3 separate regions of the Homo sapiens genome follow, and all the other regions are linked to region 1. The links are contacts of gene promoters, found by promoter capture Hi-C in human tissues and cell types (Jung and others, 2019). All regions are on one chromosome and are shown on one strand. Each heading gives the region's core, a stretch centred on a gene start or on the middle of the fragment in contact. The rest is flanking DNA. Distances are from core to core; before and after follow the strand shown.

Region 1 (2,644 bases), core at 68-2,567:
TGGTGTTTATGATCTGAAGGGTGTTGGTTGATATGCATGAAGACGAGGACATGGGTTCCAGAATGCAAATGTGAAGTCCAGGTCCTTCATCTCTGACCTGGGAGGCCCTTTAGGAGCAGTAAGTCCCCTCCCTCGTGTCTCCTCTCCTGCTCCTTTCCATGGAGCAATGAAGAACCTCAAAGTAGCTAGCTGTGGGGGAGAAGGGACACAGGAAGTCCTGGCCAGCACTCCAGCTCTGCTGTTGATTTGCTGTGTGACGTGGGGACAGTATCTTAGCCTCTCTGTGCTTGGGACCTCCTCTGACTGTCAGGATCACTGCCCTCCCCTCCCAGTGCTATCTGGGGACTGGGCTAGATAATGGGCACTGGATCCGCTGGAGATGCAGTCCTGAGCCTGACCCCAGTGCTCATTTCACATCAGGCTCAGGGTCCTGCCAGGAGGCTGAATGCCAAAGGTCAGTGGGGTGGTGGGGAGGGGGCTGCAGCCTGCCCTGTCCACCAGGGGAGTGGCATCTGGTCTATGGTGTCAGCCCTGGTCTGGATCCCTGCTCCTTTCTGTGGCTTCTATTCCTTTCATTTATTTTAGTTTAGTTTAGTTTTTGAGACGGAGTTTTGTTCTTATTGCCCAGGCTGGAGTGCGGTTGGCCAGGTTGATTTTGAACTCCTGACTTCAGGCAATCCACCTGCCTCAGCCTCCCAAAGTGCTGGGATAACAGGCACCGTGACCAGCCATCAATTCCTTTCTTTTTTCTTTCTTTTTTATTTTTATTTATTTATTTATTTTTTGAGACAGGGTCTCGTTCTGTTGCCAGGGTGGAGTGCAGTGGTGCGACGTCGGCTCACTGCAACCTCTGCCTCCAAGGTTCAAGCAATTTCCCTGCCTCAGCCTCCCAAGCAGCTGGAACTACAGGCGCAGGCCACCAAACCTGGCTAATTTTTTGTATTTTAGCAGAGACGGGGTTTCACCATGTTGGCCAGGATGGTCTTCATCTCCTTACCTTGTAATTTGCCCACCTCAGCCTCCCAAAGTGTTCGGATTACAGGTGTGAGCCACCGCATCTGGCCTTTGTTCTTTTGTAAACTATACCTGGGGAGGGAGTTGAGTCTGGCTGTACCTGGAGAGGGAATTGGGGGTGGGAGGATGGGAGGTGAGCCACCTCCATCAGACTTCCCCTGCCAAGCCCGAGGAAATAGAGAAAGAAAGGAGCCTGAGGGATCTGAAGCACCCCAGGGCCCTCCCACTCCAGTCCCACAAAAGGAAGAGGGTGGAGCCACCCTCATCAAGCAGTGACTTTTTGTGACTTTTGGGAGAGCTGACCTTTTGTGACTTTTGGGAGAGCTGCCAAAAGTGAAACTTAGTGCCTCAGACAAGCAGGGGCAAGTCTGCTAAGGAAGCTGTGGCCAGAAGCACAGATCAGGTACTGCCGCCCACTCTGTCCACTGGGCCCTCTGCTGCCACTTCCTGCCTGGCAGCCCTTCTGTGCCTCAGCCCTGGCCTCCCGCTGCCCCAGCCCCAGCCCTGGGCTCCTTCTCCTCTGGCTCCCCTGCCATCCCCACTCCCACCCAGGCTCTTTGCCCTGCTGTGTGGTCACCCCACTGCTGCTTCTGAACGGGCCGCCTCCCCGGCCTGCACCAGCCCAAGACCCCTGCTGAGACTCTCCCCTAAGAGTCATGGCTGGGCTAGTGCTCCCCACCTTGGGAGGGTGCTCTCTCTGTGTGCTTCCTGCCATTCCTGGGCTCTGGAACTGGGAGAACTGAACTAAAGGATGATGGGAGCAATCTGGAATTTTGTTCACAGTGCTTTGATGAACTTTGTGTAAGATTACTTTGTTTCAATACAAAGTCTTAGGAGAGGGTGTGGGGAGGCAATGATCTCTGAAGCACAAGGCAAATCATCTCTTCCAAGGATGTCTCCACTGTGGGCAGAGGAGGATGCAGATGACCCTGAACACACACTCCTCCTCCATGATCAGTATTCACATTCACCGTTTATAATGACACCAGTAACACGGAATATACGGAAAAACTCAATGATCAGGAGAAATGCTTTTATTTTAAAATTTAGGAAGAAGAGAGCCTGGTTCCCAAAGGCTCCCTCCTGCAGGGCCCGTGATGCAGAGGCTGGCAGGGCTGGCCAGGAAAGTGGCCCAGCTCCATGGCCTGGGCAGGTTACCCCACCTCTCTGCACCTCTGGCCCCTCCTCTGTAAGATGAGAATGGCCCCTGCAGGCCTAGGGCAGCCTCACGTGAGCTCAGATCCTCTCAGCACTTAGAAGAGTGGCCTGGGCCTGGGGATGGAAGTGCTACCCTGATTTTTTGTTTCGTTTTGTTTTTTTGAGAAGGGGTGTCTCAGTCTGTTGCCCAGGCTGGAGCGCAATCTCGGCTCACTACAAGCTCCACCTCCTGGGTTCACGCCATTTTCCTGCCTGGCCAGGCAAAATGGCTCATGCCTGTAATCCCAACACTTTGGGAAGCTGAGAGGGGAGGATCATCACTAAAGGCCAGGAGTTCCAAACCAGCCTGGGCAACACAGGGAGACCCCCTTATCTACTAAAACTAAAAAAATAAAATAAAATAACATGAATAGGTAAAATGCCAGGAATTAATTGAACTGAAATATTAAGAGCTCTTATTTTGAAGGGGAGA
Region 2 (2,644 bases), core at 49-2,548, 410 kb after region 1:
GGACTAAAATGGTCCAGGGAGGCTGCTTCTGCCCTGAGTGAGGAGGTGCCCTTCTGGCCCTGCTGCATCACACTCAAGGATCATTTAGAGGGCACATGTGTCCAGTGGCTCTCCCTATTGTAAATATTTCAGTAAAGAGTTAAAACAAGAGACATTGTTATGTGTGGGGAAATGTATAGTGTTCTGCTTTTCTCCTGATTGGGTTATCTTGCCTCTGCTAAGTTTGGTTTGTCCCGTCTCTATCTCAGTGGCCACTGGAGAGAGGGTGTCTGCTGTTCTTCCCTGATTCCACCTGTAAATACAAACGTTATCTCTTCTCCCTGGCTTTGCTCTGTGCATTTGAGGTGGGAATGTACTCGGTTTGGCGAAATAGTCTTTCATGTCCCTAAACCTGAAGCCTCTATTGACTGTAAATGGTAGAGAAAAGGAAAGTACCCCCAAGGTGTGAACTCTAGTTAGGGAAAAAAATATTTTTGGGCTTGACAGTGACTCTTAGTTAACTCAATTACTGGAATAATAGAGTCAGAAATATTTCTTTGTTTTTCAGGGAGGTAGAGGCAGGAGCGTAAGATGTGGAAGCTAGAAATATCCACTTGTAACACGGTATTAGAAGGAATGTTATTTTACATGGAAGATAATCCTCAGTGATCCTTTTTTTTTTTTCTTCAAGACGGAGTCTTGCTCTGTCACCCAGGCTGGAGTGCAATGGTGATTCTCCTGCCTTGGCCTCCCGAGTAGCTGGGATTACAGGCATGCACCATCATGCCTGGCTAATTTTTTGTATTTTTAGTAGAGATGGGGTTTCACTATGTTGGCCAGGCTGGTCTTGAACTTCCGACCTCGTGATCCACCCACCTTGGCCTCCCAAAGTGCTGGGATTACAGGTGTGAGCCACCGCGCCCGGCTGATCCTGTCTCTTGATGTCCTCCCATTCTGGGACGCTAAATGGTATCCGACTTTGTTTTCCCTTATGTCATTCCTGGTGTGAAGGACACGGGATATTATAGAGGAGAGTGGCAGCATGCTGAGTGGTATTCCGATCTGAATCACACTGTCATCCTTTATCCGGCTCAGGCCCAGGGTTCTAACTCCACAGGAATGGGCTTATCTGGGGACTGCTGCTGCTGCAGTCAGGAAGACTCCACTGTAGTCGGGAGCAGCACTGGCCTGAGCACTGCACTGGAGGCCAGCCTCTTCGCTGTGGTGCCCAAGTACTTCTTTCAGGTGAACACATTTTTAGTTCCTCTTCCAGGTGTAATCGAGCAGATGGGTGTTTTGTTTTCCAGTTAGCAGTCGAGTCTGCAGTGTCCTTTGTGTTTTTTATCTCCCGGTATACCAGTCTCACCTAAGCTTTTATAGTCCCCGCTGCGCACTTCTCTCAAGAAACAAAGCATTTGTCAAGTAGGAGGGTCCATGGAGGGACCTTTCTCACATATGGACGTGTAGTTTCAGTTCCGTGTGCAGGATGTTTGGTACATGTTGTTTTGTGTTTTGTTTGCAGAAAGTAGATAGAATAAGGGCCGATTTGATTTGGGTAAGGGTGAGCATGGTACAGTAGAAAAAGCGTCATACAAGGAGTGGGGAGTCCTGAGTTCTGGAGATGACTGTGTCGTTTTGTTTTCGTTTTTGAGACGGAGTTTAGCTCTTGTTACCCAGGCTAGAGTGCAATCGTGTGATCTCGGCTCACTGCAACCTCCGCCTTCCGGGTTCAAGGGATTCTCCTGTCTCAGCCTCCTGAGAAGCTGGGATTACAGGCATGCGCTGTCACATCTGGCTAATTTTATATTTTTAGTAGTGACGGGGTTTCTCCATGTTGGCCAGGCTTGTCTTGAACTCCTGATCTCAGGTGATCCGCCTGCCTCGGCCTCCCAAAGTGCTGGGATTACAGGCGTGAGTCACCGTGCCCGGCCCATTTTGTTTTTTTATTTTTATTTTTAAGAGATGGGGTCTCACTCTGTCACTGAGGCTAGAGTGCAGTGGCGTGATCATAGCTCACTGTAGCCTCAAACTCCTGGGCTCAAGCATTCCTCCTGCCTCAGCCTCCTAAGTAGATAGGACTACAGGCATGTGCCACCATGCTCAATTTATTTTTATCTTTTACTTTTGGAGATGGGGGTCTTGCCATGTTGCTCAGGTTGGTCTTGAACTTCTGGCCACAAGCGATCTTCCCACCTCAGCCTCCCGGGTAGCTAGGATTATAGGCATGAGCCACTGCGCCTGTACCATTTCTTTTCTCTGAGACCTGACACATCACCTCCCTATGTTGAGAACCTCTGTGTGAGGTGATGTGATGGCATTAGATGAGCTCCAAGGTCCCGCTCAGATCTAACCTTCCACAAAGTAGTGGCCAAAGGACGAAGAAATGACCTGCATTATAACCCCTGTGATGGGGTAGAGAGACCTGCTTTATAACCTCTGTGAAGGGGTAGAGAGACCTGCATTATAACCCCTGTGAAGGGGTAGAGACCTGCATTATAACCCCTGTGAAGGGGTAGAGACCTGCTTTATAACCCCTGTGAAGGGGTAGAGACCTGCATTATAACCCCTGTGAAGGGGTAGAGACCTGCATTATAACATTGTGAAGGGGTAGAGACCTGCATTTTAACATTGTAAAGGGGCAGAGAGAGGGCTGTTTTGCATGGTG
Region 3 (2,644 bases), core at 98-2,597, 260 kb after region 1:
CTGGAGGGGCCCTAACAGCATGTGCACATGAACCTGTGATTGTTTTTTTTCTTTTTTTGAGATGGAGTCTTGCTCTGTTGCCCAGGCTGGAGTACAATGGTGCCATCTCGGCTCATTGCAACCTCCGCCTCCCAGGTTCAAGCAACTCTACTGCCTCGGCCTCCCAAGTAGCTGGGACTACAGGCACACACCACCACGCCCAGCTAATTTTTGTATTTTTAGTAGAGATGGGGTTTCACCATGTTAGCCAGGCTGGTCTCGAACTCCTGACCTCAGGTGATCCACCTGCCTTGGCCTCCCAACGTGCTGGGATTACAGGCGTGAGCCACCGCACCCGGCCTGGACCTGGGATTTTTGTAAAATTTGTAAAAGAAAGATTTTTTTTTCTGTTGCTTTTCCAAAAGAGGGCCCCCAAATCATGTAAGCTTCAGGGCCTCACCAACCTGGACCCACCCTGGAACCCAAGCCCTCTGAGCCCCTGGGTCAGCCTGCACAGAAGCAGGGCCTCCAAGACCTGGCTTGTCTCTTTTTTATTTTTTTAGAGACAGGATCTTGCTGTGTTGCCCAGGCTGGTCTCAGACTCCTGGACTCAAGTGATCCTCCCACCTCAGCCTTGTGAGCAGCTGGGACGATGAGGCGAGGCGTGGGCCACTGCATCCGGCATGGCTTGTCTCTTGACTAAGGCTTTCTCACCTCTTGGTGTCATCGCCCCAGTGGCAGATCAGCTGCCACTCCTGGCACCCCCAGGCCACAGCTGTGACCTTCAGTAAGTGTCCCCTCCCCACCCTCTGTGCCTCAGTCTTCCCACCCGAACTGGGCTGGGCTGGGTCAGAAGTGCCTGATCTGTTGCGCGGTGACTGCCGCCTGTCAGTGACTCATTTCTTTGTTCTAAAGCCAGATGGGAAAAAAAGGAGTTACAGCAAGAAGCTAAACTGATTTAATAGAAAGGACCACCTTTTATTTGGAGTTTATATTCTTTTTTGCAGGGGGCTAAGATGGACTATAGGGAATGAATATCAGTGCTGGCAGATGAGTTTTTTGTTTGTTTGTTTTTTGTTTTTGAGATGGAGTCTCGCTCTGTCTCCAGGCTAGAGTGCAGTGGCGCGATCTTGGCTCACTGCAACCTCTGCCTCCTGGTTTCAAGTGATTCTCCTGCCTCAGCCTCCCAAATAGCTGGGATTACAGGCACCCACCACCATGCCCAGCTACTTTTTAAATTTTTAGTAGAGACGGGGTTTCACCATCTTGGCCAGGCTGGTCTCAAACTCCTGACCTAGTGATCCACCCGCCTCAGCCTCCCAAAGTGCTGGGATTACAGGTGTGAGCCACCGTGCCCAGTCAATGTTTCTTTAATTCTCTACTTTGACAAAATGAAAATGATAAAATGTTTGAAATGTTGCCATTTTCAGGGTTCATTTTTTAAGGGCTTTGGCCATAATACCACATGGTTCTGTAAGTGGGGTGGGTATCTTCCCCCCGTTTTACAAATGACAGAATTAAGGCTCAGCCTGGAGAAGTGACTTGTGCTAGCTCAAGGCCTGGGCTTGTCAGAGACTTGGTTTGAACCCGGACTGCTGGGCTCCACATTCTGTGTACTCCCTGTGGGTTCTCTGCCTGGATATCCATGGCACCAAGGGGTGGCCTGAGGGGGGCAGCTTCATACCCCTGGTTTTATTCACCCCCTCCACTCCACCCCCCATCATCCCAAGTGAACACTGAATAAAAAAGCTGAACTTGGCCAGGTGAGGTGGCTCACGCCTATAATCCCAGCACTTTGGGAGGCCAAGGCGGGTGGATCACTTGAGGTCAGGAGTTCGAGACCATCCTGGCCAACATGGTGAAACCCCATCTCTACTAAAATACAAAAATTAGCTGAGCGTGGTGGCGGTCGCCTGTTATCCCAGCTACTCAGGAGGCTGAGGCAGGAGAATCGCTTGAACCCGGGAGGCGGAGGTTGCAGTTAGCTGAGATCACACCACTGCACTCCAGCCTGGGCAACAAAAGCAAAACTCTGTCTCAAATAAAAAAAAAAAAAAGCTGAACGTTTTTTGTAAACACAGCAGTTTCAAGATAAGACCCCTTGCCTCCCCCAACCAACTTGCCATGTGCCAGCCATGGGGCCACAGGAAAATTCTGGGACCAGCGGTTGTTGGGGAAGAGGGTCCAGGGTAGAGACAGAACCTCTGGCCAGTTCTGATGTTCATTTGTTCATTCCACAAGTCCCCTGCTCAGTGCCAGCTGAGTGCTCAGTGCCACCCCAAGGCACTCTCGCTCCAATAACGAGAACAGGATTGAGTGGGAAGCACTGTCCCAGAGGCTCGGGTCACTACAAGAAGGAATTCCCAAGGGGTGGCCCAGGAGAGGCTTGGATGACAGACTCACAAGCTGGACTTCCTCTGAGGGCAGTGGGAAGCTGGAGAGAGGGTCAAGGGTATTTCGGAAGCTCCTGTGGAAGCTTGGTTTGGAGAGGGCTCTGTGGCTGGAAATGCGTGGTCACGTCCAGCCTGTCCTCTCCCAGTACCGGGCACAGCCCTGTCACCTAGACAGGAAGGTGGGCCCACGGCCCTTGTTTGTTATTTATTGCTGACCACCCTGGAGTCTTTCTCACCTCTTCACCTCCTGTGGCCGGCCGCTCCGCCGCTTC

Evidence for each region. Contacts are between HindIII fragments. The study calls those that stand out against the background at their distance.
Region 2: a contact is called between a fragment that was not itself captured here and the fragment with the promoter of APOBEC3H in region 1, in 1 of the 25 tissues and cell types used here (IMR-90 fibroblasts).
Region 3: a fragment that was not itself captured here is called in contact with the fragment with the promoter of APOBEC3H in region 1 in 5 of the 25 tissues and cell types used here (dorsolateral prefrontal cortex, heart left ventricle, heart right ventricle and 2 more).

Annotation. Positions count from the first base shown.
Region 1 is chr22:39,095,927-39,098,570 of GRCh38, forward strand. APOBEC3H (apolipoprotein B mRNA editing enzyme catalytic subunit 3H) reads left to right here and starts at 1,318. Exons shown (of 5, transcript NM_181773.5): 1 at 1,318-1,417. RefSeq lists enhancers at 440-1,639, 962-1,849, 1,180-1,519, 1,850-2,644. The HindIII fragment of the contact is 18,686 bases long and covers 1-2,644 here.
Region 2 is chr22:39,508,348-39,510,991 of GRCh38, forward strand. All of the region lies in intron 2 of MIEF1 (mitochondrial elongation factor 1), which reads left to right. Among named protein-coding and RNA genes, the nearest start is that of MIURF, 5.4 kb to the left of the region's middle. RefSeq lists an enhancer at 2,229-2,644. The HindIII fragment of the contact is 6,788 bases long and covers 1-2,644 here.
Region 3 is chr22:39,352,822-39,355,465 of GRCh38, forward strand. All of the region lies in intron 1 of SYNGR1 (synaptogyrin 1), which reads left to right. Among named protein-coding and RNA genes, the nearest start is that of SYNGR1, 4.2 kb to the left of the region's middle. The HindIII fragment of the contact is 5,350 bases long and covers 1-2,644 here.